Linked DNA regions of Homo sapiens: regions 1, 2, 3, 4, 6 and 7 are each linked to region 5. The links are contacts of gene promoters, found by promoter capture Hi-C in blood cells and fetal thymus (Javierre and others, 2016). All regions are on one chromosome and are shown on one strand. The core of a region is centred on a gene start or on the middle of the fragment in contact, and the rest is flanking DNA. Distances in the headings are between cores, read along the strand shown.

The links. The method cuts DNA at HindIII sites, captures the fragments that hold promoters and counts their contacts. A CHiCAGO score of 5 or more calls a contact.
Region 1: a fragment that was not itself captured here is called in contact with the fragment with the promoter of BOD1L1 in region 5 in 9 of 17 cell types (naive B cells, activated CD4 T cells, total B cells and 6 more); the score reaches 8.8 in naive B cells.
Region 2: a fragment that was not itself captured here is called in contact with the fragment with the promoter of BOD1L1 in region 5 in 2 of 17 cell types (endothelial precursors and megakaryocytes); the score reaches 6.3 in endothelial precursors.
Region 3: a fragment that was not itself captured here is called in contact with the fragment with the promoter of BOD1L1 in region 5 in 1 of 17 cell types (monocytes); the score reaches 5.6 in monocytes.
Region 4: a contact is called between a fragment that was not itself captured here and the fragment with the promoter of BOD1L1 in region 5, in 7 of 17 cell types (monocytes, total B cells, neutrophils and 4 more). The highest score is 8.6, in monocytes.
Region 6: a fragment that was not itself captured here is called in contact with the fragment with the promoter of BOD1L1 in region 5 in 1 of 17 cell types (monocytes); the score reaches 5.3 in monocytes.
Region 7: a contact is called between a fragment that was not itself captured here and the fragment with the promoter of BOD1L1 in region 5, in 3 of 17 cell types (monocytes, neutrophils and total B cells). The highest score is 6.7, in monocytes.

What each region holds. Positions count from the first base shown.
Region 1 is chr4:15,027,100-15,031,264 of GRCh38, reverse strand. The region is part of intron 4 of CPEB2 (cytoplasmic polyadenylation element binding protein 2); the gene reads right to left. The region is part of intron 2 of C1QTNF7-AS1 (C1QTNF7 antisense RNA 1); the gene reads left to right. Among named protein-coding and RNA genes, the nearest start is that of CPEB2, 27 kb to the right of the region's middle. The HindIII fragment of the contact is 499 bases long and covers 2,064-2,562 here.
Region 2 is chr4:15,146,836-15,151,032 of GRCh38, reverse strand. The region is part of intron 2 of C1QTNF7-AS1 (C1QTNF7 antisense RNA 1); the gene reads left to right. Among named protein-coding and RNA genes, the nearest start is that of CPEB2, 150 kb to the right of the region's middle. RefSeq lists enhancers at 825-964, 100-1,056, 22-1,221, 1,057-2,013. The HindIII fragment of the contact is 249 bases long and covers 1,202-1,450 here.
Region 3 is chr4:15,166,054-15,170,203 of GRCh38, reverse strand. All of the region lies in intron 2 of C1QTNF7-AS1 (C1QTNF7 antisense RNA 1), which reads left to right. Among named protein-coding and RNA genes, the nearest start is that of CPEB2, 170 kb to the right of the region's middle. The HindIII fragment of the contact is 3,486 bases long and covers 280-3,765 here.
Region 4 is chr4:15,050,538-15,054,447 of GRCh38, reverse strand. CPEB2 (cytoplasmic polyadenylation element binding protein 2) reads right to left here. Exons shown (of 12, transcript NM_001177382.2): 7 at 1,864-2,034; 8 at 231-320. The region is part of intron 2 of C1QTNF7-AS1 (C1QTNF7 antisense RNA 1); the gene reads left to right. Among named protein-coding and RNA genes, the nearest start is that of CPEB2, 50 kb to the right of the region's middle. The HindIII fragment of the contact is 1,112 bases long and covers 1,684-2,795 here.
Region 5 is chr4:13,625,023-13,629,033 of GRCh38, reverse strand. BOD1L1 (biorientation of chromosomes in cell division 1 like 1) reads left to right here and starts at 1,309. Exons shown (of 26, transcript NM_148894.3): 1 at 1,309-1,689. The coding sequence starts at 1,447. MIR5091 (microRNA 5091) reads right to left here and starts at 1,169; the gene lies at 1,077-1,169. RefSeq lists enhancers at 419-1,149, 1,153-1,312, 1,150-1,880 and a silencer at 1,453-1,652. The HindIII fragment of the contact is 7,220 bases long and covers 1-3,059 here.
Region 6 is chr4:15,202,928-15,207,050 of GRCh38, reverse strand. The region is part of intron 2 of C1QTNF7-AS1 (C1QTNF7 antisense RNA 1); the gene reads left to right. Among named protein-coding and RNA genes, the nearest start is that of CPEB2, 200 kb to the right of the region's middle. The HindIII fragment of the contact is 2,796 bases long and covers 1,166-3,961 here.
Region 7 is chr4:15,068,377-15,072,088 of GRCh38, reverse strand. It overlaps CPEB2 (cytoplasmic polyadenylation element binding protein 2), which reads right to left. Exons shown (of 12, transcript NM_001177382.2): 12 at 1,938-3,712. All of the region lies in intron 2 of C1QTNF7-AS1 (C1QTNF7 antisense RNA 1), which reads left to right. Among named protein-coding and RNA genes, the nearest start is that of CPEB2, 68 kb to the right of the region's middle. The HindIII fragment of the contact is 2,128 bases long and covers 900-3,027 here.

The sequences.
Region 1 (4,165 bases), core at 1,064-3,563, 1.4 Mb before region 5:
CAAAATGGCAACCTGTATCACTGTTCAGCATAATAAGTTAATTAAATCTACGATACTGACAGTGTGTAGGATGCAGAGCATGTAAACATGAGTGGGACATAGTCTTATGATGTGGTAGGGGAGATAGACACAAATATACAATTTCAATAAAATATGCTAGGTGCTAAAAGAGTTATGTATAGAATGCTATATAAAAAAACACAACAGAGTATATAGTAATCAGGCCCAGGGATTAAGGCAAGACTTCCTGGGAAAGTAAATTAAGCAAAGCCTTAACATGAAGCCTAGTTCCACCTTGAAAGATCCTCAACTTTCAATTGTCACATAATTACTCTAATAGGTTCCTGTTCATTTATTTATCCCAAGATACAGGTAATAAAATAGTTTCACTGCTAATAGTCTTTTGATATTATGGCTCTGAATAGACTTTTAAAAGGCACACTTTTTGTGGAAAGTTTAAAAAACATAACTATTTGCAAAGGAACATATATTGTATACATATGTATACATATTATAAATACTACAGCTCGCTACCTAAGAAAATCTCTCAATGTAAGTAATAACATACTCCAAAATGAAATAAGCAAATTTAGACTCATTTTTAAAGATGAGTCTTTTTCTCTACCACAGTGGAAACATTAATGCATCTTCATAGGTTAACTTTTAAAGTTAAGTTTTACTTAGGGTATTATTAAAAGTACTTTCGCTAAAAACCTGCCAATTGATAGTAAGAACTAACAGCATTTGAGGCTATACTCTGAGCCAGGAGCTTTTCTATGTTCTTTACAACCAATTACTTAATCCTAAGAACGATCCTATGAGTTAGGTATTATTATCTTCCCATTTTAAGATGACAACACTATATCACAAAAAGTTAAATAGGTAAGTTGCCCAAGGTTATACCACTGGCAGGTAGCACTGGCAGAACCTGAACCTAAGCAGTTTGGCTCCATACTCTTAATCGCTATCTTAATAATTACTTTATATTGACAACATAAAGGTATACATGGTTGGTTGTAGGACAATTTTATCTCTTAAAAAATTCACAGAATATTCTATAGTATATTTCATAATTTAAGATTTAATATAGAAAAAATAGAAAAAAAACCACATTACTATAAAACTAATTTCTCCTTATTGTTTAAAAGACCTGTGGTGCAGTGACTGATAGATGTACACTAATAACTACCTGTTCCTGTCAATAATAGGGTCATCAAAGCTAGACAGATACAGAGCTTCCCAGAGTAAAAAACAAAAAACCAAAAAACTACATACATAGCCCAGCCTTCTTGTAGGTAAGTGTACCCCTGCATGTAAGATCTGGCCAATGGGATATAAAGTGAAAGTGGTACGTGCAATTTCTGGGAAGTACTGTATCCTTAAAAGGGAAGACCTTCCTTTTCTCTTTCTTGCTTGCTGAAATGCTGATGTGATAGCTAAAGTGAAGAGACCATATTAGACCATAAGGCAAAAACTGTGTTTTCAGGATAATAGAAGAATGAGATAAAAAGGAGCTTCAATCCATGAAAATCACCATACTACTCTAGAAGTGTTAATGTTTCTGGTAAGGGAAACAAACTTCTATCTTACTCAAGCCACTTAGGAGTTTTCTGTTGTCCCTAATGAACCTAAGCTTACAAACAAAGTCATCTAGTAATAAACCTGGGCAAATTAAATTTTAGGTAACCAGGCAATTGCTTATTAATTATTGTGAAAATATGATAATTTCATAATGGTTTAATATATCAATAAAGAGTATACACTAGCTCTTGACACGGCTCCTTTCACATTAAGATACTATGAAATTTAAAATAAGTAATTTAAAAAATATATGTATTTTTGGGTATCAGTGAATAACTAGAGGATCTATCGTATCTTAAAAATTTTCTTATTCGTCTATTACGATTTTAAATAGTAATTTGTATATAACATATACAGTCGGCCCTCTGTGTCTGGGGCTTCTGCATTCATGGGATTCAACCAAGAAATTATATTGAAAATATAATTCCTGATCAAAAATACTCAGGAAAAAAAAATTCCAAAATGTTCCAGAAAGCAAAGCTTGAATCTGATGTGCACCAAGTATGATACGACATTGAATCCGCACAAATGTGATGTCTAGGCACTTAGGTATTATAAGTAATCTAGAGACGATTTAAAGTACACAACAAGATGTGCACAGGTTATAGGCAAAAACTACATCATTTTACATAAGGGACTTGAGCATTGCCGATCTTGGTATCTCTGGGTGGTCCTGGAACTAGCCCCAGTGGTTACCAAGTGACAACTGTATAAAAAAGCCTTACTTCATGTTAGCCACTTTAAATGTATTATCTGAGCAACTAAAAATACTAAGAAATATGACAACTGTATAAAACTTATCACTTCTTTAGAGAAATTACCAGATTACATTTGGAACAAATATCTGGTCCCTGATTCTCTACCATTTTTGCTACACTGATCTCTGCTGTTCCTCAAACATGCCAGGTAATCCCTTTTCAGGATCTTCCTACTTCCTTTTTTTTCTGCTTGAAATACATTTGCCCAGATACGACCAAAGCTTGCACCTCTCACTTCATTCAGGTCTTTAAGAGATAGCATGACAGACTATCCTGTCTAAAATAGCAGCTTCTTTCTCTATCCCCTTGATAGTATATTTTTTCTGCATAGTACTGATTATCATCTAACATTTTCTGTCTCTATACTTCTTTAAAACAGAAGATCCATGAAGGCAGTAACTTAGTCTCTCTTACTCTCTAGCATATAAAACAAAGCGTAGCATATAATAGGCTCTCAAATATTTGTTGAATGGATAAATCAAATATTTCATTCTACTATGTAAACTATGGACTGAATCAAAAACACAAATACCTTAACATGTGTTTGTATGTGTGGCATAGGGAGGATATTCTCTAAGAAAATGAAAAAAAAAAATCATAGAACAAGACTTTTTTTTCAGCTTATTTCTAAATCTCTTACATATTGAAGTTGTGGGGAGAGATATTGCAAAAGTCCTGCTTATTGCTCTTTGCCAAGATAAATTTTTCCCTTCTCTAAACTATTTTTTCTTTAATGAGTTAATAGAGGAAATGAACTCCAAAGCCCTAATATTCAGTTGATGATGCTAACTCACTCTTCAGTGATGAGAACATAGCTAAAGAACAATGCCATGTGCTCTGCCAATTGTTTCTAAAAGAAAAATAAACATTTAAATCACATTAGAATCATAAAGAGTTTAGGTTAGAATTAGCAACAGATCAAAAGGGAGACACTATGGTGCAGTGGTTAAACGCACAAACTCAAAGCTACCAAGTTCCACCACTTACTAGCAGTTGAAATGCAGACAATTATTAAGAATAAGCCATAGTCATCCAACTGTAAAATAAGGGTAAATATCTACCTCTTAGTCATGCAAATTAAATGAGTTAATACATATATGTAGAGTCCTCAAGAACAATGCTTAGCTGTATCAACTGTTCAATAAATGATATGTATGGTATGTTATATACTGTATGTGTTTATTAAACACACAATACACACATACCCTTAATAGAAGATATCTAATACTTCTTAATTAAGTGCTTTAAATAAAGCATTGCCCCAACTCATTTGACAGACTCTTCCAATATTGTTTTCATAATCTACATTTTACCTTTACTTCCAAATCCAATTAGGAAAAAAAGGTTCATTTGAAGTCTGGTAAAATCCACTTAGAATGTGGTCATTACCAACCTTGAATAACTCCAATCTCTGCTCAGATCCAAGGGGCAGGACAGTCATTCCTGACCACACTCCCAAATTTCAATGCATGCCTCATAAAAGCCTAAGAATAAGATCATACAAACGCAGAAAAGACCCTTAGATCCAAAGTACCAGATCCGAAGAGAGCAACAGAATCATTCCTTACCTACATCTAATAAAAGCCATCAATCTACTTTAGATTCAACTGAAATTAATCTAGTTAATGCATTCAAATCAAAATCCTATCATAAATTTTTTGGCCTAATCATATTTTAAGACTTTTACCCAATTAATACTAGAAAATTTACCAAGAAACACCAAAGAACATAGAATACCAAAAAGTTTTGATTCAAGAAAATGGTAATCCCAAAAGACAATAATAATAAAAGACAAAACTTAAGTCATTAATCATTTAGTAAGATAA
Region 2 (4,197 bases), core at 77-2,576, 1.5 Mb before region 5:
CAGACTTTTATGGAGCACATCCTAGATGTCAGGGATGATGCCCAGCATGGGAGATGCAAAGTCATAGATAAGTTCTCGGTCCTAAAATGCCACACAAGAAATATGCACTGGATGTTCTGTGAGCTTCAACCAGCCACTTCATCCAGCCTGAGGAAAGGGAAATAGATTCCTGGAGGTGGTGAGTCCTACAGGAGCAGTCGAGCATGCAGAGGCTGGAAAAGAAAGGTGTTCTGGGCAATCAGGACAGCATGAGCCAGCCAAGGCATGGGTGATGCCAGCTCTGCATGTGTAGGGCCCTCCAAGCAGTATTTGCTGCTGGAGCATCAAATGGGAGATGAGATGGTCAAGAAGAGTGAACCTGGGTGGAAGGAGAACTGGTTAGAAGGTAGTGATGGCATCCAGGGAAGAGAGGGTGAGTCCTGTAATTGGGCAGTGAAGGGGATGGAGGAAGGGAGCCAGGCTCCAGAAACCATGAAATGCTGCCTTCGGCTCTGAGCTCCCGAGAAGCAGCAGAGCAGAGGGAGGGAATAACATGCAGCCAGAAGGACAGACCTGGATGCTGTGTGCACCTGCTTGGAAGCCACAACTCTTTGGTGTAAGCCCTGCTTCCCCACTTCATGGCTGTGTTACCCTGGACAAGTTATTTGCCTTCTCTGTGCTTTAGTGTCCCCATCTCAAAAGTAGGGATAATAATAGAAAACGCATAAGTCTGAGGTTATGTATATTAATACGTACAGAGGACAGGGACTGTGGTATCTGGCTGGGCTAAAGAAGTGTGGACTATCTTTTGTAGCCTCTGCAGGGGTTCCTGCCTCTCCCAGCCAGGCCAAGCCTGCTCTGCCAGCTGAAATGTCAACATGGGCGGTTCCTGTCTGAAGTCCCCACAGACAAAGGATGCTTTGCACCCAGGGGACCTGAGCAGTGTCCTTTTCTGTTTGTCTCACAGAGGCCTTCCTTTTCTGGCCGCAGCTGACCCGAGGGTGGGCGGACCCCGCAGCAGGCTCTTTTCTGCTGAGTCATCCTGCCTGGCCTGCCTGGCTGGAGTGACATAGCAGGAGGAGCTGGCTCCCCTGCAGGCTGAATCTGTCCTGGGGGTGGGGTGGGGAGGGTGGTAACATTTTATTTAGGGGGATCAAAAAGCCTCCAGATGAAACAATGGTGGTTTTTTTTTAATGGGTATGGTGGGCTGTTTGCCAAAGCTTGGCCTGCCAAATAGTGCTGGTAAAGGAGGGACTGTTGTCACTGGGTTTTTGGCCATGAATTTGCATCCTAGCAGGAGGCAGGAGGCAGCAGCCTAGGAAGGCCTGGTCTTATTTTTATCGTGTAAGAATGAGGTACCCTTTGGTAGAGTTTGTGAGAATCTGTTTCACTTCCAGAGCTACGCATGCTGAGTAATAATGATTGCTGACTTTTTTGAGCACTTGGTGTATGACAGCCTCTCTACCAAGCTTTCAAAGCATTCTTTCATTCAGTCCTTACCAGCTTGTGAACTAGGTTCTCTTCTTATTTCTGTTTAACCCACGAGGGAACTGACTTTCAGAGCGGTTAAGTCAGTTGTGTGAGGTCACGCAGCAGAAGGTGGCAGAGCAGGCAGTCTGATGCGGGGGCACAATCTCTCGATGGGTACACCTTGCAGAGGGCTGTAGGAGTTACTGGGGGCGTGTGCAGCAGGGAGTCTCACACGCAGTGGGTGTACAAGAAATAGCCTCCATCCCTTTTATCACTATTATTTATTCCTTCTAAACAAACAAACAGCAACCATTCAACATGGCGATGTGATTTTGAAGGGATGATTTTGGTCCTGCTTGAGGACATGTCTTGTGTCTTGACTCCACATCACTAGGACATGGGCAGTCTGCACACAGAGACCTCAGGAATGTGACACCCCGGCCCCCTACTTCTATTGCTTTCAGACTGTCTTGGGTTGACCTTCTTTAGTAGCAGGATGACCTTCACTCTCCATATCTTTATTTCATGGTTCAGGACTCAAATGTGTAGGTTGTAGAAATTTTACAAATTCCAGACAGGCTTACCACATTTAAAATACCACTGACAAGTGTGTAATGCCTACCTTTTTAACTCCATGTAGGTCAGCTACATAGTACTCTCAGGGAGTAAGAACTTTCCTAAAGCAACTCGGAACTGGGCCATTTTGCTTACTTGCTGGCGGCCTGATAATACCAGGGCTTCTCGGTGTTGCTAAGAGTTTCCAAGGAGAGAGATTTGCTTCTCTCCCATTTTCCCCTTCCAGGGCACCAGAATGAGCTCGCTGCTGGAGCCTAGGGCACGTTCTTCACTTGGTCACCATCAAAATAAAATTACCAAGCACGCAGGTACTGACGAAGCCTGTCACTACACAAAATTAATCATTTTAAAAAGTAAATGACCCAGTTTCCTGTGGTGTGTGTTTTTGGGGCCCAGGGAGTGCCCTTCCCCCCTCAAGTGAATTGGAGATGCCTCAGATGATGTCAGCTCACTCTGCAAGCGACAGAGAGATGGGTTGGCAAGATCTGCAGCATGAGCCTGGGATCCGGCTGCCATTTGGGCTGCTGTCGGCATCACTGTGGAGACCATTAATCTTCAACTTACGACGACTGAGCCTTCTCGGGGCATTGAGTTTTCTTGTTCTGTTTTGTTCAGCGTGGCATTCAAGATTCCTTCACAGAAATCTGTGTCGGGGCAGGAAAATGCTATGTGAATTATGTCCTTGTGAAGTCACCATCTGGCCAATATTCATCTTGCTTAGTGAAATATCAAGGACATCCTTCGGCACAGATGCTGCGGGGCAAGAACATAGCACACAAGTGACTGCAGTCATAAACCAACACGCAATCAAGTGTAATTAATGCACCTGGTGCCCACTTCAGAGTTCCAGTCCCACAGTCGCACACTGGTTGGCTTTTCCTTTTTCATATGTGGCTTTTTGTTGTTGTCAGGTTTTTTTTTTTTTCTTCCCTTTTGGGGTGGGGATAGATGTTTGCAGTTTGAATCGGCCCTGGGATCTTCAGCAGTAAATAAGTCACCATCATGGAGCTGGTGAAAATGGGAGTGTTTGTGTGCATTCAAGAAGCTGCATCACATGCAAACCGTACAATACTGAGCAGCATTCTGTGCCTTGAAAAGGCCATTGTCCCGTGCGTCTGGAATCCGTTCTCCTGTTGACACTCACTGGCTTTTGAAGGCCAGGTCCAGATACTGGCCTCCAAGTGCTTTTGTGCCAGATGGAAGAAGGGAAGGGATCCAAAACTTGGAAAAATAAAAGATAAAAACACAAAACAGTCCCCCATGACTTCTCTATCAGCAGGATTTCATAGCCTCCTTCCCCCTTTTCCACACTGGTCTTGACCTGGTGGTGTTTTAAAGTGGTGATGGGAGAGGAAGAGCAGCATTTTGCCTCACTGGAACTGAAATTCTGGAAGCTGTGAATCCTTTCTTTGGATGGAGACCTGGGGGTTAACTAGTGGGGCAAAGGTGGGGAGCAGAAGTTGCAGAAGAGAAACAGTGATATGAGGGCTCCTTATAACCCAAGAGCCATGTAAGTAAGGCATGGGGATATGGGAGGCAGGGGGGCCTTTACCTGGGGTTCAGGGACACATAAGGAAAGTGACCTGGGCTCACTTGCAGTGTTTCTGCTGTGCACAGAGGAGAGGAGGGATGCTCCTACAGTGACCTTGCTGTGGGCAGTGCAGCCTGGGTGCATATGGCGGCTGCGAGCTCATCCTCCTGTGTCACTTCTACACGGAAATAGCAAAATTGCCGTTAGCAATTAAAGGTTTCAAAGGCCCCTGAGTGTCATTAGGGGCTTGTCAATGGCTTTCTCTGAGCTGCAGGATGAATGGCTCCCAATTGTCTCCTATCAAATTAAAGCTCCTTATCATAGGCTGTAGCATCCTCTGCTAATTGGTGCCTGCTTCCCTAATTCATCTTTCATTCTGAAGCACCTTGTCCCATCATCTGAGAGCCATCTTCCAAGTCTTCTAATTGCCAGCTCTCTTCAAATCAATTCCATTCAACAGATGTGCACTGGATTTCAACTCAGAGCCAGGCCCTGATAGAAGGGGAGGCAGTTAGGTATATGAATCGGAGGGCATAGGCATTATACTATAGAAAGCCTTTTGTAGTGTCTGAAAGAGGAGGCAATAATTTGAGTCTTGGTCCAAACTTAGGAGCTGAATAATCTTGCTTAAACTCTCCAAG
Region 3 (4,150 bases), core at 773-3,272, 1.5 Mb before region 5:
TGCTCAGTAAATGAAGAGTTGTTAATTCCTGTGCATTTTTTTGGGTCTCTTGCCACAAACTCTACAATTCTGCCAGATTTGAGATTGAATAGGAAAGAGAAGCAGGTATCTTCTTATGTTTCTTCAAAGAGCTGTTAGGCTGTTTAGAAAGAAAGGTTGTAGCTGCAGGCACATCCCTCAAACAAGGGCCAGGCTTCCAGGGTGAAGGCATTTTCCCCAACACTGAATTTGAACTACTCTCCCCGCTCACTGTCCACCTACCCCAGCATACAGGAAGCTTAGACCTGAGAAGCTGAAAACCGGGCTCCTGAGTTGAAAATACGAACACACGTGAGCCACAGATCTTCCGGGTAAATGTGCCTGCACATGGCCCCTCATTCCATGGGCGCCATCCCTGTCAGATTTGAAGATTGGCTCATGGAGTTCTACAGCTTCTCACCAGGACACAGTTGGGTGCCATGGGGCGTGGGGGTAGATAATCAGCAGATGCGGGCCTGCCCTTCCACCCAAGAGAGGTTCTCAAAGGACTCCCTGTTCCCTTTGATCAAACAAAGTGGAGTGAACTAACAACCAGCTCAGTGGAGTTACATTTTCTTGGAAAGAAAAAGCACTAGGAGAGATGACTTGCTAGTTTACTTCAGAAGCGAGCACTCAGGTGGTATTGTTGACTGGAATCGCCCGACAGGGCTGGAGAAACAGCCCCATCCCCATCATGGAGGACAGGAACCTATTCTTTGGAAACTGAGGTCTTTCCATCTGGTACCCTGGAAACACTCAGAGGGACTGTGACCAACATAGCTCTGCATTCCACGGGAGAGTCTTCTCATCATTGTTGCAGAGAAAAGTCTTCTGTTCCTGGAGGAAACCTAGAGCAGGAGACCAGGAGGTCCTTTAGTCTAATTCTCTCCACATTAAGGACCAAAATCGTATAAACCTCTTTATATAAGTGAATGCCCCGGTCCCAGTTCACACTGAGGGTGATGCAAGATTATGAGTAGAGAGGCCTCTTGCTTGGGTATTTTGAAAACAAAAAGTTCCCTGGATGATTCCAGTACACTCTTATAGTAAAAAATATAATATATATATTTAAAAACAGAATGCATCCACTTTTTCTTGAGTTTGGTGTCTGTGTGTGTGTGTGTGTGTGTGTGTTTAGGAGTGAAAGTGTGGAGGTGAGTTCTAACTTGTGCTGCTCATTGTTCTGGGGAAGCAGCTGGGAGAGATGCTGAATCCTGGAATAAGCTGATCTGACAAATTTCCTTACTCATTCTTTTAAGACCTGGTTTAGACATATCCTTTCTGAAGGCTTTTCTGATTCACCCAAGCAGACTTGATCCTTTTCCTCTTTTGACCCCACTCTACCACTAGCAACTTATTAAGGGGCTTCCAATCTTGTAATTAAATGCTTATCTGTCTCCTCCAGTCCATAGTCTTCCTTCATGGGCTGGCTTCATACTTTTCTCTTTAACCCCCATCTTCTGTAAATGTTTGCTGATTAAATGAGGTGGAATGGGCACGGGAATAGTTCCCAACCTAGGGACTGCTGATCCTCCAGACATTCACCATAGCAATAACTAGGATGCATAAGCCATTATTAATCTTAAACATTTTTAATGAATATTGCACATCTACTCTCAAGAGCTTAGCTCCAGCTGTGTGAAATGCCCCTTTACTTGGTGGTTAGTTTATCAACTCTGTGCTAATACAGCTGTCAGATAAGATATCATTGGCTACACGTAGATCAATAATGAAATTATTACTTAGTCAATAGGATGTTCTTTCTAAGTAGACAAAATCATTGGTAACCTGATGTCTTTGTAGGGAAAATAAAAACAATAAAAAGAAAAAGATAACTGGAGCTTTGGGGGACATTGTCTCACAAAACCTGTCACTGAATAAGGGTTAGAGTTGATAGGAATAGTTGGCTTTGCTGACTGTCTAAAACAAAGCCAGGCAGAGGACATTTCTGGATTCAGAGAACAATGGAGGTTCCTTGATTTCAAAACTTACCACACCCTCCCAAAAGGAAAACAAAGAATAACAAGGAGAAAAAGCAGACAAAACGACACATGACCATGTCTTTTGTTAGTAGGAGACAGAAGCATCACAACCTCTAACTTACCTGTAAGTAGAGAAAAAGGTGAATTCCAATAGAGCCCCTGCCTGTGGGTGAGAGATTAGAAAAGGGGAGGCTTGAGAGTCTTCATAAAATGTGCAAACAAAATAAACCCAGAAACGAAAGTCCAACATTAAAATCCAAAGTACAGAATGTATCCTGTGACCTGAAATTGTCAGTACTGGACACAGGGCAGAGAGAGAAGAGAGGGAAGAGAGGGAAGAGCTGCAGAGAGAGAAGAGCTGGTGCCCCTGGGAGACAAACCAATGAAGAACATCAGCAGGGGAGATAAATTACTCTCCAAGAGAAATATACCCTCCTTCACCCCATCCCACCCCAACTTAGGGCCCAAATCATCCATAAAAGAAACTACCTAGAAGAGGGAAGAACGCGAAGAAAGGGAAGCTCTTAAATTAGGAAGCCTGTTCATGAAACGAATAAGAATCAAGAAAATCAAGCATATATATATATATTTATATATATATATATATATATATATATATGTATATATATAAAATAATATATATAATAATATATATCTCATATAATATTTATATGAGATTGTTATAAAAAATTAGAAAATGAGAATCAAAGCATTTCTGTTAACAGAAATTCTCCCCAGGAAATTTAGCCAAAAATCAGAAGAAAACTCTAAAACAAGTGTAAAGGAACACTCCAAAGTGAATCAATTTACAGATATGAAAAAACACATTGAATCAGAAATATGAAAACTAGGAACAGAAATAGACCCCCAAAAAAGCACACACAACAACTACCCAGAAAGAACCCCAAAGAGTAGGTTTTCAAAATAATTTTTAATAAAGATAGGGTCTTGCTATGTTGCTTAGGCTGAACTCAGAGTCCTGGGCTCAAGTGATTCTGCTGCTCATCCTCCTAAGTAGCTGGGACTGCAGGTGGGTGCCACCCAGCTTCCCTGATCTGATCACTATACTTTATGTGTATCAAAATATCACTGTGCATCCCATGAATATGTGCAATAACTGTGTTGATTTTTAAAAAATTAAAAGAATGCAAACAATTTTTTAAAACCCAGAAAATAATAAAATGAGTGAAAATGAATTGGGAAGGGACTTGGGAAAGAAATAGGGCAAAAGATAAAAGTTCATCAGTAATGAAGACTGAAGAGGAGGATAGAATCAAATAAAATGGAAAGAATGTTGACAAAAATAGATCACCAATCAAAATAATGATGACATGAAGAACAAAGTAAAAAAGGTCAGAGGGAAACTGGTTGAAATGACATAAAATTGGAAAAGGGTGTCTAACATACCTATGATTGGCATCCCCAAATAAGAAAATAAATAGAACTAATATTTTAAAAAGTGAAATTCCAGAAAAGTTCCAGAACTAAAAGGAAAACTGAATTTACACATAGACAGGGCCTAAAGGGAACTAGGAAAAAATGGAGTAATTGATTCTGGGACATGGTCTAGTAAAATCAATAGACATTAAAGGAAAAGAAAAAATCCTCAAGTCCTCCAGGCACAAAGATAGAATAACTTAGAAAGGCAAGATAATTAGTTTGTCATCAGACTTCTTTAAAACAACATGAAAAGCAAGGCAATAGCAGAGTTGCATTCTCTGTTAGGGAATGAGCTTCAATCAACCAAAAGATGTCTGGGAAAGCTTTGCCAAAAGTACTAATAAAAAATAATATGTAGACATTACATGTTCTCACAAATAAGAACGAACACAACTTTAAAAATGAGAGGAGACTTCAACTTCTACAAAAGTGAAGAGGACACATTTTCCTATATTTCTACCACTGTGTGAAGCTAAAAATCTGAACATTACATGTAAAATGAACATAAGAAGGCTTGGAAAGGTGAAGAGAAGAAAATAGACTTCTAGAGACTGACAAAAGGCCCTGAATTGGAAAGGTGCACCGAAACATGCCAGCACTAGAGATAAATCAAAACAGAATTCTAAAAAAAGTTCAAGTAACCTACAGGAAGGCAGAAAAAGCAAAGCTGGAAAACAGAAGAAATAAGCAGAGAACAAAAAACAATATGG
Region 4 (3,910 bases), core at 990-3,489, 1.4 Mb before region 5:
GATCTTAATTTCATAATGCAGAGAGATATTGTTTCATATGTCTATACCCAAGTTACTTGAAATGATGCTTTAGACAGAGAAAATACTCAAACATTTGTTGATCTGAGTCTATGAAATTATCAAATCATAGCAAGTCTCTTATGATTCCTAACTGGCTAAGTAATTGCTATTCTTTCTTTTGCTCTCATACAACCAATTTCCTAGCAAATATTAACAATAACAATCCTTACCTTTTGGTGGAAAATAGGACTTGCTTTCTGCTTTATGAGGCCAATCTACTACCAAAGGCCCAAATCTTCTGAAGCTAGCAGTTATTTCATCTTAAGAAAGTACAATAATACACATTAGAAATTAGTTTCAGTGATTCGTTCTAAGAAATTCTGTACTGTTACTATGAAGATTTAACATTTAAAAGTGCCAAATACCTTAAGATAAATTAGAATATAAACACTGGGAATATGTCTAATATACTTATTAAAATAATATGTCAAGATTAACAATTTTTGTCAAAATAAATTCACTTTTAAGCAATGCATTGGTTAGAATACTCAATTCCATGTGAATTTTAAAATTTTATATAACATTGTATGGATACTAATGACTTTATAGTACACCAAACCACAAATAGCACTGGATTGAAAAAAATGCCAACATATATAAATAAAATCTATTACTGCTTCACAAATAAAATCATTTTATTATAGGAAAAAAGGTCTGCTAAAACAAGACTTGAATAACTACAATGTTGAAAAAATATACAAGGGTCTGATACATGCCTGGTAGTTTCACTGAAATCCACATAGGTTACATCCAATTGCTATGTCTTACGTTATTTCATTACATAGAAAGCTTATGAAGATCAATACTTAGAATTAAGTTTGTGGATATCTGAATCATAACTAAAAAATTTCCTAAAATGTAAGAATGAGTGATACATTTCCCATAACCTCACAAATATAGCTTAATATTTTAAGTCTTCAATTAATTTTCTTTTGTTATCACATACAATTACTAGTGTTTGTGAAACCCTAATTTCCTATTCATGTTCTGTTTCCATTTCCCTTTCGGGTTTAATAGCCTCTTTCTTCCCTGTTTCTAAGAGCACATTTATCCTTAAAGAAATTAAACTTTTGGCCGGGTATGGTGGCTCATGCCTGTAATCCCAGCACTTTGGGAGGCTAAAGTGGGCGGATCATGAGGTCAGGAGATCAAAACCATTCTGGCTAACACAGTGAAACCCCGTCTCACCTAAAAATACAACAAATTAGCGGGGCATGGTGGCGGGCGCCTGTAGTCCCAGCTACTCAGGAGGCTGAGGCAGGAGAATCGCTTGAACCCGGGAAGTGGAGTTTGCAGCGAGCCGAGATTGCGCCACTGCACTCCAGCCTGGAAGACAGAGCGAGACTCCACCTCAAAAAAAAAAATAAATAAATAAATAAAAATAAAAATAAACTTTTGATTACCAAGCATTGCAGATATTATCTTATGGTTGGTTCCATTTATTTCAGTGTATGTGTGCATGCACACATTATGGTGATACAAAAAGCTTTAAGTTTTATATACCTAAATATATTCTATATTTTAAAAACAAGTAGAATATGACCTAGGTCATGAAAATCTTATTTACAAAAAATGCTCACAGTTACAAATATGATAAGATCTAAAGTGAAAAATAAAAAAGCTTTTGTTCAACTACTTTCATATTTCAACAGGTGATAAAGTATTTTAAAAGAAGAAAATGCATTCTAATTCTGAAAATCTCTAGGTGGTAAAAACTTTCATAGTCCATTCACATTAAATTTCATATCTTTTTGTTTTTGTTAAAGCCCAAATCACCATGTTAATAAATATCTTAATAAATACCTTCATCAATATCTGGAGGAAGACCACCAACAAAAACTTTTCGAGAGAAGCGTTCTATTCGCTCTCCATTTTGGTGAGCTGAATAACAGGTGGGTGAATTTAAAACTCCAACTTGATCACTGTGACCATCATCAAGCAAGCCATCATCTATTGGAAAGAGGGAAGAACGACCTAGAATAAAGAACAAATACAACTTGAATCTCAGATCTGAGAAAATGATAAATTTAAGCATAAAAATACCAATGACAAATTCAAAGACTTAAAAATGAAGGTGATGCAGGTGAACATAAAAATTAAGAGAAATTTAAATAGCATGTGGTTTTAATTACCTGGATTCAAGAAAGAAGCAATCTAAAGAGTGACTTAGAAATAAACATAGTCATATGTCAACAATTAAACTGCAAAAGAGATACTAGATCACTTCAACTTGTTATGAGCAAGAACTTGTTATAAGCAAGAACCTAATGTATGTGGACAGTTAGAATGGATATATAACAGGAGAAACTTTTCAGAAACTGGTGGCAGAAAGGAAATGACACAGACTAAATAGATAAGGGGATATAATTTATAAAAAATCACTTGTAGACTACAGTAAGTAAGGATGAGGAGAACAAGTAATACTTGTATACAAGGTCTTCACCTAATTTATTACACGTGTGCCAATTACATGAAACAGTAGACGGAGCTTCCGCACATGTGCAAAATAGAAAAGGTACCCCCTCTAGCACGTTAGTGCCCATTTGAGCCCACATTTCAGGAGGTAATCCTTATATAGGGCACATCCTGCACAATCCTCTGAAGTAATCCCCACTCTGTGGGTAATCCCTCCACAAAACTTAAATGCCCTGATATACTCCCTGGCTGTCAAGGAATGTACATTTAGAAAGATAAGATCTATATATGTAACCATGGTACACATCCATAAGAAAGCTTCAAAGTGCTCAGAGGACATATTCTGGAGGAAAGGAGTCAAATAAAAGGATGATTTCCTAAATCTCTAAGTGAAATTAAATAGCATTTGGGATAAAAAGAGAAAAATAGCAGTACATAGTGAGGCATTAGAAAGAGGAGAATATCTATAGGTGGAAATATTTACAGGAACATGGTTTTCAGTAAATTTTCCTTTTTTTCCAAGTGAAAGGAGAAACATAAGAAAATGTAGGAAAAATTGAACTTACTTGAGAAATAAGGAATAGTCAAGGTTGGCTGAAATATGTTGGAAACAAGGAGAGTAAAAGCCAGAAAAGCCCTTTGAGGCTAGAGTATTTAGCATTGAATGACAGGCTAACGAGACATTTAGTAGGTGGTGAAGATAATAAACTAGATACAGGGATTCAATCAAGATTATAACTTTTTCTATGCATTAGGGAGACTTAGTCAATATGGATAAGGTAGTTGAAAATGAGCAGATCAGAAGCTGTGCAAAAAATCCACAAAGGATGGATGGCAGTCACAAGCAGATAGGAAACAAAATAGGGAGAAAGAATGAAAAAGGAGAGATCTAAGGAAGACTTTAGAAAATGATAAAACCATTAACTGATATAAGGACAGTTAAGACCAGAAACTGGTATAAGAAAGGAAAATAATTTAAGCTTTAGATGTAAAGTTTTATATGCTGTTAGGATGTTCAGAAGCAAATGTATAGTAGGAAGCTGAAAAGGAAGTGGAGAAAAGAAATGTCATATTTCTGAGAAAATAATTTGGAGTCAACTCCATGGGTTATAGTTTAAGGTCCTTTATAACATCAATGATAAACACTCCAGCGAGAAATGATGAGGACAGTTCCTTGGGAAACTTACAAGGAAGAAGCAGAACATTCAAGGAGTTAGAGAAAGGAGTGGTAAGAAAAGTGGGAGGGCAGCCAAAATATCATGGTAATAGAAGCACCAAAAAACCAATAAAAGAACGAAAGAGCAATTAAGTAACAATGTGAGATATTAAGATAATTACTTTTAATAAACAGTTGTTTTTGAGGACATACATGATCTGTGAAGGTAGCTGTTTCAGGAAAGTTGGGTAGGAGTCACATTGCATGTATTTAGAGTTT
Region 5 (4,011 bases), core at 60-2,559:
CTATCTGGTATATTTCCCAGAATCTGAAAGAGTGAAAAAATAAGGATTAAGTAAACAAATCCTTTGGCAAGCCAGGTGGTTTTCAGCTCTTTGCTTTCCATAAAATAGAAGGAGGGCCTAATTGAAGTCAGCTCATAGATAATCAAATCTAATTTTTTGAGGTCAAGAATTGAATGATATTGCTACAACAAAACTCTTCCATTCCTAGGCACAGTACTTGTTTATATGAACAAGGTTTCTCAGGGCACACAGCTATAAAAATTACAAATAGGAATAGAATTGATGCTCAACCCTTCTTTTCCTACTAATAAGATATATTCAGCCACAGATGTAGGAACTTTAAAAAGCAACAATATGCATTTTTCAATAAAGTTACACACACTATTTAGTAATTATGAAATTTTCTAATATTTATGTTGCTTTGACCACGTACTAATAATAATTTCAAAGATGATGCAGTCCAAAAGCAGGTGATTTGCTAGCTGTGTAATCTTACTCAACATACTTAATTTATCTGAGCCTTGGTTCCCTGATTTGCAAACTGGGGACAGTAATCAGACCTAGCTCTTAGTGTTTGTCCAAAGATTAAATGCGTTAATACATGTAAAAGCACTTAACGCCACGCTTGGTACATAATATGTGCTATAGATGTTTTACCTGCTATAATCATAGTAATCAATAGCAAATCTCCTAAAAATAAAAGCCTGTCGATTTGTCTTCACAGATAGGAAGAACGGGCTGGAGGGATCGGATCTAATCCACAGGCACACTGCCAGAAACAAGGGACCCCCACGGGGAAATGGTATGTGCAGGCAGAAGAGAGACAGAAGGAACTTGGAGCTACCTGCTGGGACAAGAATAGTGCAGGATCACAGGCTAAGAACGAAGAGGGTTGGGCGAAGTTAGAATGAGCAGATCCACGTAGGGTTCGCATTACAAATGTCTATGGATCTCTATGCACTGCTCCGGGAAACTGGAGCAAGAGAGGCAGGCCTAAAATGCCGTCGCGGATGAAGCGGGGCCAGAAACGCACTGCCCCCGCTCAGACCTAGGGCCCCAGGTGTCGCGCGGGTCGAAGCCCTAACCTCCAGGGACTCCAGACCCCTGCCGGTGACCTAAACCCCACAACCCGCGACCAGCACAGTCTTGTCGTCTCCGTCGCCACAGTCGCCGCCACTTCCGGCGCAGCTCGGCCTCGCGAGGGCGCTTGCGCCCGGCGACGGTCGAAACTGGCTCTTCGCGGCCTCCGTCGCCGGACTTTCGTCAATGTTGTCACCGTCTTTTCCTCCTTTCCCCCAGTTCCCTTTCACTTCCGGGGTTGCTCTGGATCCGCTGGTTCCGTAACAACATCCCGTTGGCTTCCCTCAGGCGGCGGGACCAGTGCAGCCGCCGCCTCCCAGGATCGTCCGCCGGTCAGGGCCCTTGCCCTCCCCGGCACAGGCCACCATGGCCACCAACCCACAGCCGCAGCCGCCTCCTCCGGCGCCGCCGCCTCCCCCGCCGCAGCCGCAGCCGCAGCCACCGCCGCCGCCGCCGGGCCCCGGGGCTGGCCCCGGCGCGGGCGGGGCGGGCGGCGCGGGTGCGGGCGCCGGGGACCCGCAGCTCGTGGCCATGATCGTGAACCACCTCAAGAGCCAGGGGCTCTTCGACCAGTTCCGCAGAGACTGCCTGGCCGACGTGGACACCAAGGTTAGGAGCGCGCCGGGTTTGGGGGTCTGCGAGGGAAGGGGAGGACCCAAGGGCGCGCTTCTTTTGCAGTGGCTTCCTCTTGGAGCTGCAGCTGTGTGCCACGGACTGTGCAAAGCACAGAGTGTTCATTCCTTAGCGTGTCCTTTGGTTCGTTTTACCGACTAGTGTTTAAGTACCTACTACGTGCCAGTCATGGTTTCGGCACAGTGATTACCCCGGTCTGATGAGCAAGACTAAGGCATTGTTCTTACAGGAACTGGTTTGGAAACAGTGGCGCTAACAGTAGCCAGTTTTGTATTCATTCTCATATCTGATGATTTTACTTTGTATCGAAGTTATGTTTGCCTTCTTTCTTGAAGGTTTCTGGGCGGTAAGGGCCTTTATCCTTTGGAGAAATGACTAAATGGTAATTGAATCAAGTTATGTGTAATATGCTTTGCTGGACATCGTGGGGGTGGGAGCGCAAAGATAAGGAGGCAAACCTGAGACAGGACTTTAGTATTGTTTCTAGCAGTGATTGCCTGATTTAGGTAACTTAGGCCATGTCACCATTCTAAGGTAAGAAGGGACAGGAAGGTGGGGTAGAGAGAACCGAGTCATTCAGTGGAGAAAAGATGCAGGAGAGGTGACAGCAGATACTGAAGTGGAGAAAGGACAGGAAAGAGAGCAGATTCAGGAGAGTAATGTAGAGAAGGGAAAGGACAGCAACAAGGTTCCCTGTCCAGAAAGAGAGGCTGGAAAGGGGAAGGGATTTTGTACCAAATGTCAGAGTGAAAGGGACATTAGCAGGAACAAGTAAACTTAGCTGGATTGGCAAAGAATTAGCCAAAGACACCAGGAAAGAGCAGTCAGTGAGATGGATGGAAAACCACAGTACAGTCTAGAATTCTGGAAGCAGAAAGCATGTTGGAAAATTAACTGGTTTGTAGGGGTTGTTTTTGTCTGCTTGTTAAATCTGGTTGGGTCCATTGGATTGGAGTTTTGATGAAATGAGGGTTTCCTTTTTTTTTTTTTTTTTTTTTTTTGAGACAGAGTCTCGCCCTGTCGCCAGGCTGGAATGCAATGGCGTGATCTCGGCTCACTGCAACCTCCGCCTCCCGGGTTCAAGCGACTCTCCTGTCTCAGCCTCCCAAGTAGCTGGGATTACAAGCGCGTGCCACCACGCCCTGCTAATTTTTGTATTTTTAGTAGACACAAGGTTTCACCGTGTTGGCCAGGATGGTCTCGATCTCCTGACCTCGTGATTCGCCCAGTAGGCATGAGCCACCGCGCCCGGTCGAGGGTTTTCTCATAGTATGTTTAGTTGTTCTGAGGAGCTTTGTATCTTTGAGAAATGCATGTTTACAACATCCACAGTTTCTTCTAAAGCTTTCAGGTGAACTGCACACAGTTCCACTATGTCTTCTGGGGAAACTCTTGAATATCCTGGTACATCTTCCTTTATAAGGACTCATACTGGGCCCACTATGTAAAACGTGGTTTTTCGGGATATTGGAGGTTTTGCACCACAGAGAATTCAATTCACTTGGGAGTGTTCATCTATTTAGGAAGTATAGTTTTTTTTACTTTTGTCTTCAGGAATATGCACTGCTACCTTTTAGAAATAATTTCTATTGCCTTTATTATTTTTGTTGTTATTTAATGGGAAAAGGTTAGACATGGCCAGGTAAATGTTATCAAATAAAGTTAGTTATTCGTATTCAACAAGTGGAATTTTTACTTTGCTGTTCTCAGAAACCCATGAATCTGTGTGTTCTCAGAAACCCATGAATCATTATGTATACAAATTAAAAATTGTAATGTACTGCTGCAATGTCTGAGGCTCAACTTTTTTATTATCCTATTCCCACAAAATGTTATTGGTATGTGTCTATAATATCCCTGCCAGACCCTTCAAAGTAAAGGATTAAAACCTTTTTTGGAGGGAAGGAGGGAAGCACAGTATCTCTGATCATCTAATGAAAGTTAGGACCTTCTCTCAAGAAAAATGCGCAAGTAACACATTAAAACGCTGTTTTTCTACTTCAGAATGGTCAACTATAGGCAATTTCATGAGAATCAATCTAATAACATATACAGTTTCAGTGAGTTCAGGAACCATGGAATAAGAACCTATTTTAATGTTCTTAGCCTCTTTTTTGAGGTCAAGAATTGAATGATATTGTTACAACAAAACTCTTCCATTCCGAGGCACAGTACTTGTTTATATGAACAAGGTTTCTCAGGGCGCATGACTATAAAAATTAGAAATAGGAATAGAATTGATGATCAACCCTTCTTCTAGTAATAAGACATATTCAGCCACAGATGCAGGAACTTTAA
Region 6 (4,123 bases), core at 1,314-3,813, 1.6 Mb before region 5:
ATAGCAGGAGTCCCCTTTGCTTCATTCCCCAAGAAGTTCCTCATCTCCATCTGAGACAGCCTGAACCTGGACATCATTGTCCATATTGTGATCAGCACTTTGGTCAAAACTATTCAACAAGTGTCTAGGAAGTTCCAAACTTTCCCACATCATCCTGTCTTCTGAGCCCTCTAAGTCTCTAGGAAGTTCCAAACTTTCCCATATTTTCCTGTCTTCTTCTGGGCCCTCCAAACTGTTCCATCCTCTGCCTGTTATCCAGTTCCAAAGTTGTTTCCACATTTTCAGCACCCCATTTTCAGCTATACTTTTATAGCAGCACCCCACTCCTGGTACTAATTTACTATATTCATCTGTTCTCATGCTGCTATGAACACATATCCGAGACTGGGTAATTTGTAAATAAAAGAGGTTTAATTGACTCACCATTCTGCATGGCTGGGGAGGCCTCAGGAAACTTACAATCATGGTAGAAGACACCTTTTCACAGGGCGGCAGGAAAGAGAATGAGTGCGAGCAGGGGAAATGCCAGAGGTGTATAAAACCACCAGATCTTGTGAGACACACTCATTATCACAAGAATAGCATGGGGGAACTGCTCCCATGATTCAATTACCTCCCCCGGTCCTGCCCTTAACACATCGGGATTATGGGGATTACAATTCCAGGTGAGATTTGGGTGGAGACACAGAGCCAAACCATATCAGATGACATTTAGTAGGAGTTAATATATAAGTCAGAAAAAGATTAAAATCTTGAGATAAAATTTGGGCTTCAAAGTTGTATATATGACATTTAAAGCCGTTAGACTGGATGAGATCACCTAAGGAGAGTAGAGGTTGAGAAGGGAAAGGGGGCCTGGGAAATGCTCTAGGCACTTCAAGCCATTGGGAAGAAATTAACAACAACAACAATAACAAAACTGCAAAACTGGTTAGATGGAAGTCTGAAGAAAGTGAGGACATGGACACCAGAAGAAGCTGGTGAAAATATAGTATCTCTAAAGATGGTAGAGAATAACAACAATAGAACAAGGGAGGGTGTACTTGGCTGAATGCTGCTGTGAAGTCAAGTGCCAGAAGGATAGAGAAATGGTCAGTGAATTTGGCAACTCAAGTCACTGCTGGCTTTGACAAGGGTGGTCTCAATAGTGTTGGGGAAGGAAGCTTGCATTGAAAGGAGAAGTTTGGGGGATCAACAGGAGATACCAATTGCATCTACCTCTTTGGGAGCTTTGCTTGAAGAGAAGCAGATTAATGAGCAGTGCTTGAAAGGAGATAGGTAGTCATGGAGTGTTATTTTATCTTTAAAATTGGTGGATAGTCAAGATATTTGTGTGTTGATAGGGATGATTCATAGTAACTTTTCTAAAATATTTGTTGCATGATTGGATTATAATAGAGTTTTCAAAATAAAATGGAGAGGAGACACACACATACACACACAAAGCAAAACTTCTTGAGATGAACTAGCAGAAGGGAAGAAGCCTATTAAAGTCCATTTGGTTTCACTTTCTCAAATTCACCCTTTGCAGTGGTCCCAAAACATGATTGTGGAATCCCAAAGCTCTGACCTTGAATTGGGAAAACACTCTGTTAAAAAAAAAAAAGTGATATCTCTAGAGATGGTAGAAAGTAATGACAACTATAAAGAAAGTGGCCAGGCACGGTGGCTCATGCCTGTAATCCAAGCACTTTGGGAGGCAGAGGTGGGTGGATCACCTGAGGTTAGGAGTTCGAGACCAGCCTGGCCAACAAGGTAAAATCCTGTCTCTATTAAAAATACAAACTTGGCCTGTGTTGTGGCGTGCACCTGTAGTCCCAGCTACTTAGGAGGCTGAGACAAGAGAATCGCTTGAACTCAGGAGGTGGAAGAGCCAAGATTGTGCCACTACACTCCAGCCTGGGTGATAAAGTGAGAAGCTATCGAAGAAGAAGAAAAAGAAGAGGAAGAGGAAGAGAAAGAGAATGATGGTGATGATAATAGCAACTAACATTTATGGAGCACTTAACAAAATGCCACCATTTTAGTCTAAGCATGTAGCATGTCTTATTTCAGTCAATCTTCATAATAAGACTTGGGAGAGAGGTACTATTATTACTCTTATTTACAAGTTCCTTTATTGGGGCTTGGGTATGGAAACAACTTGCTCAAGAACTCATAGCTAATAACTGGCAGAGCTTGGGTTCAAGCCCCAATTTATCTAATTCCAGATCCTCTTACTTCTTCTTCATGGGAAAGAAGTGGTGACAAGGAATGGACCAAAGAGTGCCTTCCTAAAAGTATTCATTTTTCACAAGAGTGATAAAAAGGAGACCCCACAAAGAAAGCAAGCCGAGCCTTGAAAAGCAGCTTTGGAAAATTAACTTCCATCTTCCCAGGCAAGCAACATCCTTCATCTATTTATTTTTTTTTTCCCATAGAACAGAAGAATGTATACCACTCATCATTACTCTTCCTGACAGCAGAAGATTACATGCTGGCTTGACTGAGTTTCTGTCAAGGAGAATTTATTGCAATTTCATTTTTTTTTTTAATTTAAGTTTTAGGGTACATGTGCACATTGTGCAGGTTAGTTACATATGTATACATGTGCCATGCTGGTGCGCTGCACCCACTAACTCGTCATCTAGCATTAGGTATATCTCCCAATGCTATCACTCCCCCCTCCCCACCACAGTCCCCAGAGTGTGATATTCCCCTTCCTGTGTCCATGTGATCTCATTGTTCAATTCCCACCTATGAGTGAGAATATGCGGTGTTTGGTTTTTTGTTCTTGCGATAGTTTACTGAGAATGATGATTTCCAATTTCATCCATGTCCCTACAAAGGACATGAACTCATCATTTTTTATGGCTGCATAGTATTCCATGGTGTATATGTGCCACATTTTCGTAATCCAGTCTATCATTGTTGGACATTTGGGTTGGTTCCAAGTCTTTGCTATTGTGAATAATGCCGCAATAAACATAAGTGTGCATGTGTCTTTATAGCAGCATGATTTATAGTCATTTGGGTATATACCCAGTAATGGGATGGCTGGGTCAAATGGTATTTCTAGTTCTAGATCCCTGACAAAGATGGTTATTAAAAGGCATGGCTATTTTGCATTTTATATGCAAGTCCTAAAAATATGTCAGGTTTGATCTTCTTCTACAAAACCACCTTGTATAAACTTCCTGCTTCTCTTTCTCTTCTCCCAGCTCTCAAGTTCTCCTGTCCTTTGCACGTCACTGCTGTTGCCAGATCTCTCCCTGGGCAGCCCAGCTTGCAATGGCCTTGTCCCACATTTTGTCTTGCCCTGCTTTTTGTCTGCAAAGTCGAATCTTTATTGTATTTTAAGCAGAACTTAGAATGCTTCCTCTCCACAAATCCTTGTCAAGTGCCTGACTGGAGACCACCAAATAGCTCTAAAGCCATCGTGACCTGTCGATCAGCCACTCTGAGGAAATGAAAGCCAAGATTCCCAGAACATGATAATATAACTACTGAAATAAAAAAAGGTCCTGTATGTGGAGTAATTATTGCTTGTTAAAAGCTGGCAGATGGGCTAAGTGCTTTGTGTATGTTGCCTGTGACTGCAAAACAATGCCTCATTTACCTTTATGCCCAAATTAGAACAGTTTGAGTCCTACTAACATGATTTCTGGGAAGTAGCCCTTTGCAAGGCATCTGGCTGTATCTCAGAGGTCCGAGGTGCTCAGGGACATGAACTTTGAGTTCCTCCACCCATAGTTCTTATTATGCTCCCATGCTACTTCCTCTACTGCTGATGGCTGGTGGGATGGCCACTCTTCTGTGAAGAGGGGTAGCTAGTAGTTATTCTTTCTACCAATTTTGCATCGGGGGATTGTGGCATTGTTCTTCCTCTTGCTACTCCATCTGCAGCACAAGATATTACCACATATAATACCTAAAAAAAAAAAACTGGATTTGGGGTGTGGAACAGGAGTGCATTGAAGCTTCAGGGATAATGGAAGGGCTGTGCACTGTGGGTAATAACGTATCATTCCTCCCAGCTGGCTCAATCTCATCCCAGGGGCTTTTCTCAGACCCCCTCCCTTCGTATCTGATGGTGTGTTCTCCATGTGCTGGGCCTTTCAGCCAGCTTCCCACCACCACAAAC
Region 7 (3,712 bases), core at 714-3,213, 1.4 Mb before region 5:
GAGGTCAGCAATGTCTTAAACTGAAAAATAAACATTGTTAAGTGTGCTATTTGGATATAATAAGGCAAATAACATGATACTGTTAAAGTGAAAACACTTAAAAAGAGTTAAAAGTTGCCTTTTATGAGTGGAAATTGTAGATGAGGAAAGGGTGGGTGGGGTTTTATCTTTTTCATAATTTGTGTATTTGACTTAAAATATTTAAAATGTTACATTTAAATATATATTAAATGCATTTAAAAATTACATATATTGCAATTTGAAGACAATTTAGTATTAATAATAAATTAATCAACATCTATAGTCTTATCTTCTTCTATCCCAAACAAGGCTTTCTTCTTCATTTCAAATGTTCATCCAGGTTTTGCTTTAAATTACCTTGAGTTTTAGTTATTATTTTAACATCGATGTTTTAAATTATGACTTTATTTGGACTTGCTTCTAAATTGTGTGAAGCTTTTTAGCCACATTTCGTTTCCTAACTATACACTAGAGCGATATTTTTTACCTATGTAGTATCCCATGTCTTCATGTTTCCTGGGTATTTTATTATCATTCCTTCTTTTTGGTGAAATAGATCTTTAAGTAACTCTTTTAGAAAGGATTTGTGAGTGCTAATCTTTGTATCTTTTAATTCTTTGTTCATGGAAAAATTTAAGTCAAATGCTATCCCCTATGTAAAAGTTCTTAAGTAATTTCATTTCAAGGAAATGAAATTACTTAAGAAGAATATTCCTTCCTTTCATGCTTTATACATGTTTATGAAAGTGTATTTTATCTTTTATTAGCATACTGCATTGCATTTGAGTTAGCCTGGCCTTTCACCTTCAAGGCTATGAGACCTTGTGAGCAAAGATTTGACAAAGTCGGTGTTCAGTACTAAGTTGGTATTCAAAGCTTATTCTTTTCTTAAATAACCGAGGGAAAGGGGAGCATAAGAAAATGATCTTTATGTCAGTAGCAAGGGAATTAAGACACTGTGAAATTCCTGTTGTCTTAGATAGGCCAGAATGTGGAGGCGGCTCTTTAGTTTTATTATGAAAGAGGACTTTGTTGAGGAAAGAGAAAATAGATTCCAAATAGAAAAATGGCAGCATATGCTAAACAAGATACAGATATGTAGAGATGCATGATTTGCTTGGAGGACATGGGTGACAGTGACACAATATGAAGGGCATACAATGGCAAGATTAGCCCATTTAAGGAGTTTCTATGGTGTCTTGTAGAAGATGAGGAAACATTAAGTTTTACCCTTTCTGACATACCTATGTCCTTATAGGTAAAACAAAACATTTGGTTATGATCAGTGATCTTTCATTTTCTGAAAATGCAATGGAATCCTTTCCTCCTTCTGCCCAGTGACTGCATACCAATTTTTAGGTAGAACTTCAGCTTTGTTAAAGTTAAAAGTAGAGCTGTTCTAGTTATAATTAGGATGAGGAACCTAGATTCCAGGCTCCTTACTCTATACTTCTTTTCCTTCTCCCTCCCTCTTCAAAGTAGACACTGAAAAATCCACACAGGCTGTGCAAAGAACAAGTAAAACACTACAAGTGATTCCCAACTAGAGGGTATCTGAGAAAGTATCATGAAAACTGTGCATTTAGCAACATGATTAACAGTTCCTCATTTTTTGAATGCAGCATCAACTTAGATATGGCAATATTAATTATAAGTGATGACTGTAACACAGAAATTTCTATGATATATGGGGGATGAGGGTGGGAGAACTGACACAAGAGGACTCAGGGCTGAAATACTGAGAGATACTAGACAACATGGTCTCCAAGGCTTCTCCTCTATCCTTGTACTGAAATGTAGTTTGGCCTGGGCATCATAATATATTTATGTCACTAAGCTCTCTCTCTAAATAAGATCTTACTGGTGTTTTTGAATATTTTACTTGATTTGAACCGAAGAATAAGATTCCACAACTATGCCAATAACTTAATAGTTTATTAGTCAGTCAACAATATTACAAATATTTAAAAATTACTTAATATAAATAGTTGGCAGCAAACTATTCCATTACAGAGTTAAATTACCAGTACAACAGACAGACTGGAGATTTAGACACCTGGAAGATAACAATAAAATAAACTAAAATATTTAACGAAAAATTTAAGCTGAAGGTGTTTACCTAGTGTCCATAAAAGCATGGGTTCTCTTTTTATTTAGAAAAAAATAAAAAACGGCTTTAACACCCCATTAGGAATATAAAATAAAATCAACTGAAAATATTAATTTGCATATCAAAGAACCATTTATAATTACAATCCAAACACTCCATAAACCACTTGTGCGATTCTATACAGAAACTGGGAATTAGAAACTAGTTGCTTTAATATTACAAAGATTTCAGCTCCAAAAATAATTCAACATAAAATAAACTTTAGCAATTAGTGTCATAAAATTATATATTTCCACATAAAAATACAAAATAATATTAATGACAAGAATATGAAAAATTATTCCAAGTATTTTACTACTATTAAAATAAAATAAAACCCAAAAAAACAAAATAGAAATATGCATGAAAAAAGTCTCTCCTTTTGTTAGCAAAACACTATCCAAAATAACTACAATCATTTACATCAGTACAAAGATTTCTGGATTTAAAAAATAGTTGCAATGACAAAAGGGGTATCTTTTCTGACAGTAAAAAATGACACTGTGGATAAAATCTGCAAAATATGCAATGAAAAAAATAAATTTGCATTAAAAAGGTTTACACTGTTTTTTTTTATACAAACATTAGAAACAGTATTGCACATCACAACACAGAATCGAGGTTAGTCAGCCTTCCAAAATGTGTTATATTCAAGTTTTGTAGCATCTTTGAGGAGAGGCTCTGTGCAGCCAGATGCAACAGGGATAAAATATCAAGTGTTTTCCATACACAAATATATAAATGCTAAATGTTTCCTTCTTAACAAAAAGTGTGGATTTTTAAAGTATTTTTTTTTCCTCCACAGTCATACTTTTGGGCAGCAATATGAATATTTAGGGAACACAAGTGAAGAAGCTTTTAAAATACAAAAATACAATCAAAATTAATAATTTTCTACAAAAATAGTAAAATAAATATGATCTGTAAATTAAAAAAAAACCTCCAATACAGTGTTTAAAAGTTAGAAAATAAGAATGTAGTACATAAAGGGCAAAAACAAAACAAAACAAAAGAGGTAGGGGTGAGGTGGGAAAGGAACAAAACATTAGACTAATAAGCTTTACTTGTACAGAAATGAAGGTAAAACAAACCATACATTTCTGTTATTTTTACCCGTGGCAAAAAGGGTGTTCTAGTACATTCCCCTTCATTCCAAATATTTATTTCTGTTTAAGAAGGGAAAATGATTTTCAACATCTCCAATTATTTTAATTATATAATTTGTGTTCATTATTTAATACATGAAAAGGCTCTTCAATTTTAAACATTAAGCAGAAATTATGAAAATAAAGTTTAAAAATCTGCGAAATTAAATATCTAAATAATTAACATTGCAAAACTACTGATTTCTTCTCTAAATTCCAAAAATTGAGGTATAGCAAAGGAGATGTCATCAGTCAAAAAAAGTGTGCCATAAAATAGCTGACTGTTGGAAAAATCTCTCACAGAGATATAAAAATAGTGCATAACAAATGTCAAAATGGATCAAGGTTTGGCAGGGTTAAGGTTAGAAAAGAATACTCCAAAAAATCTGGAGGATCA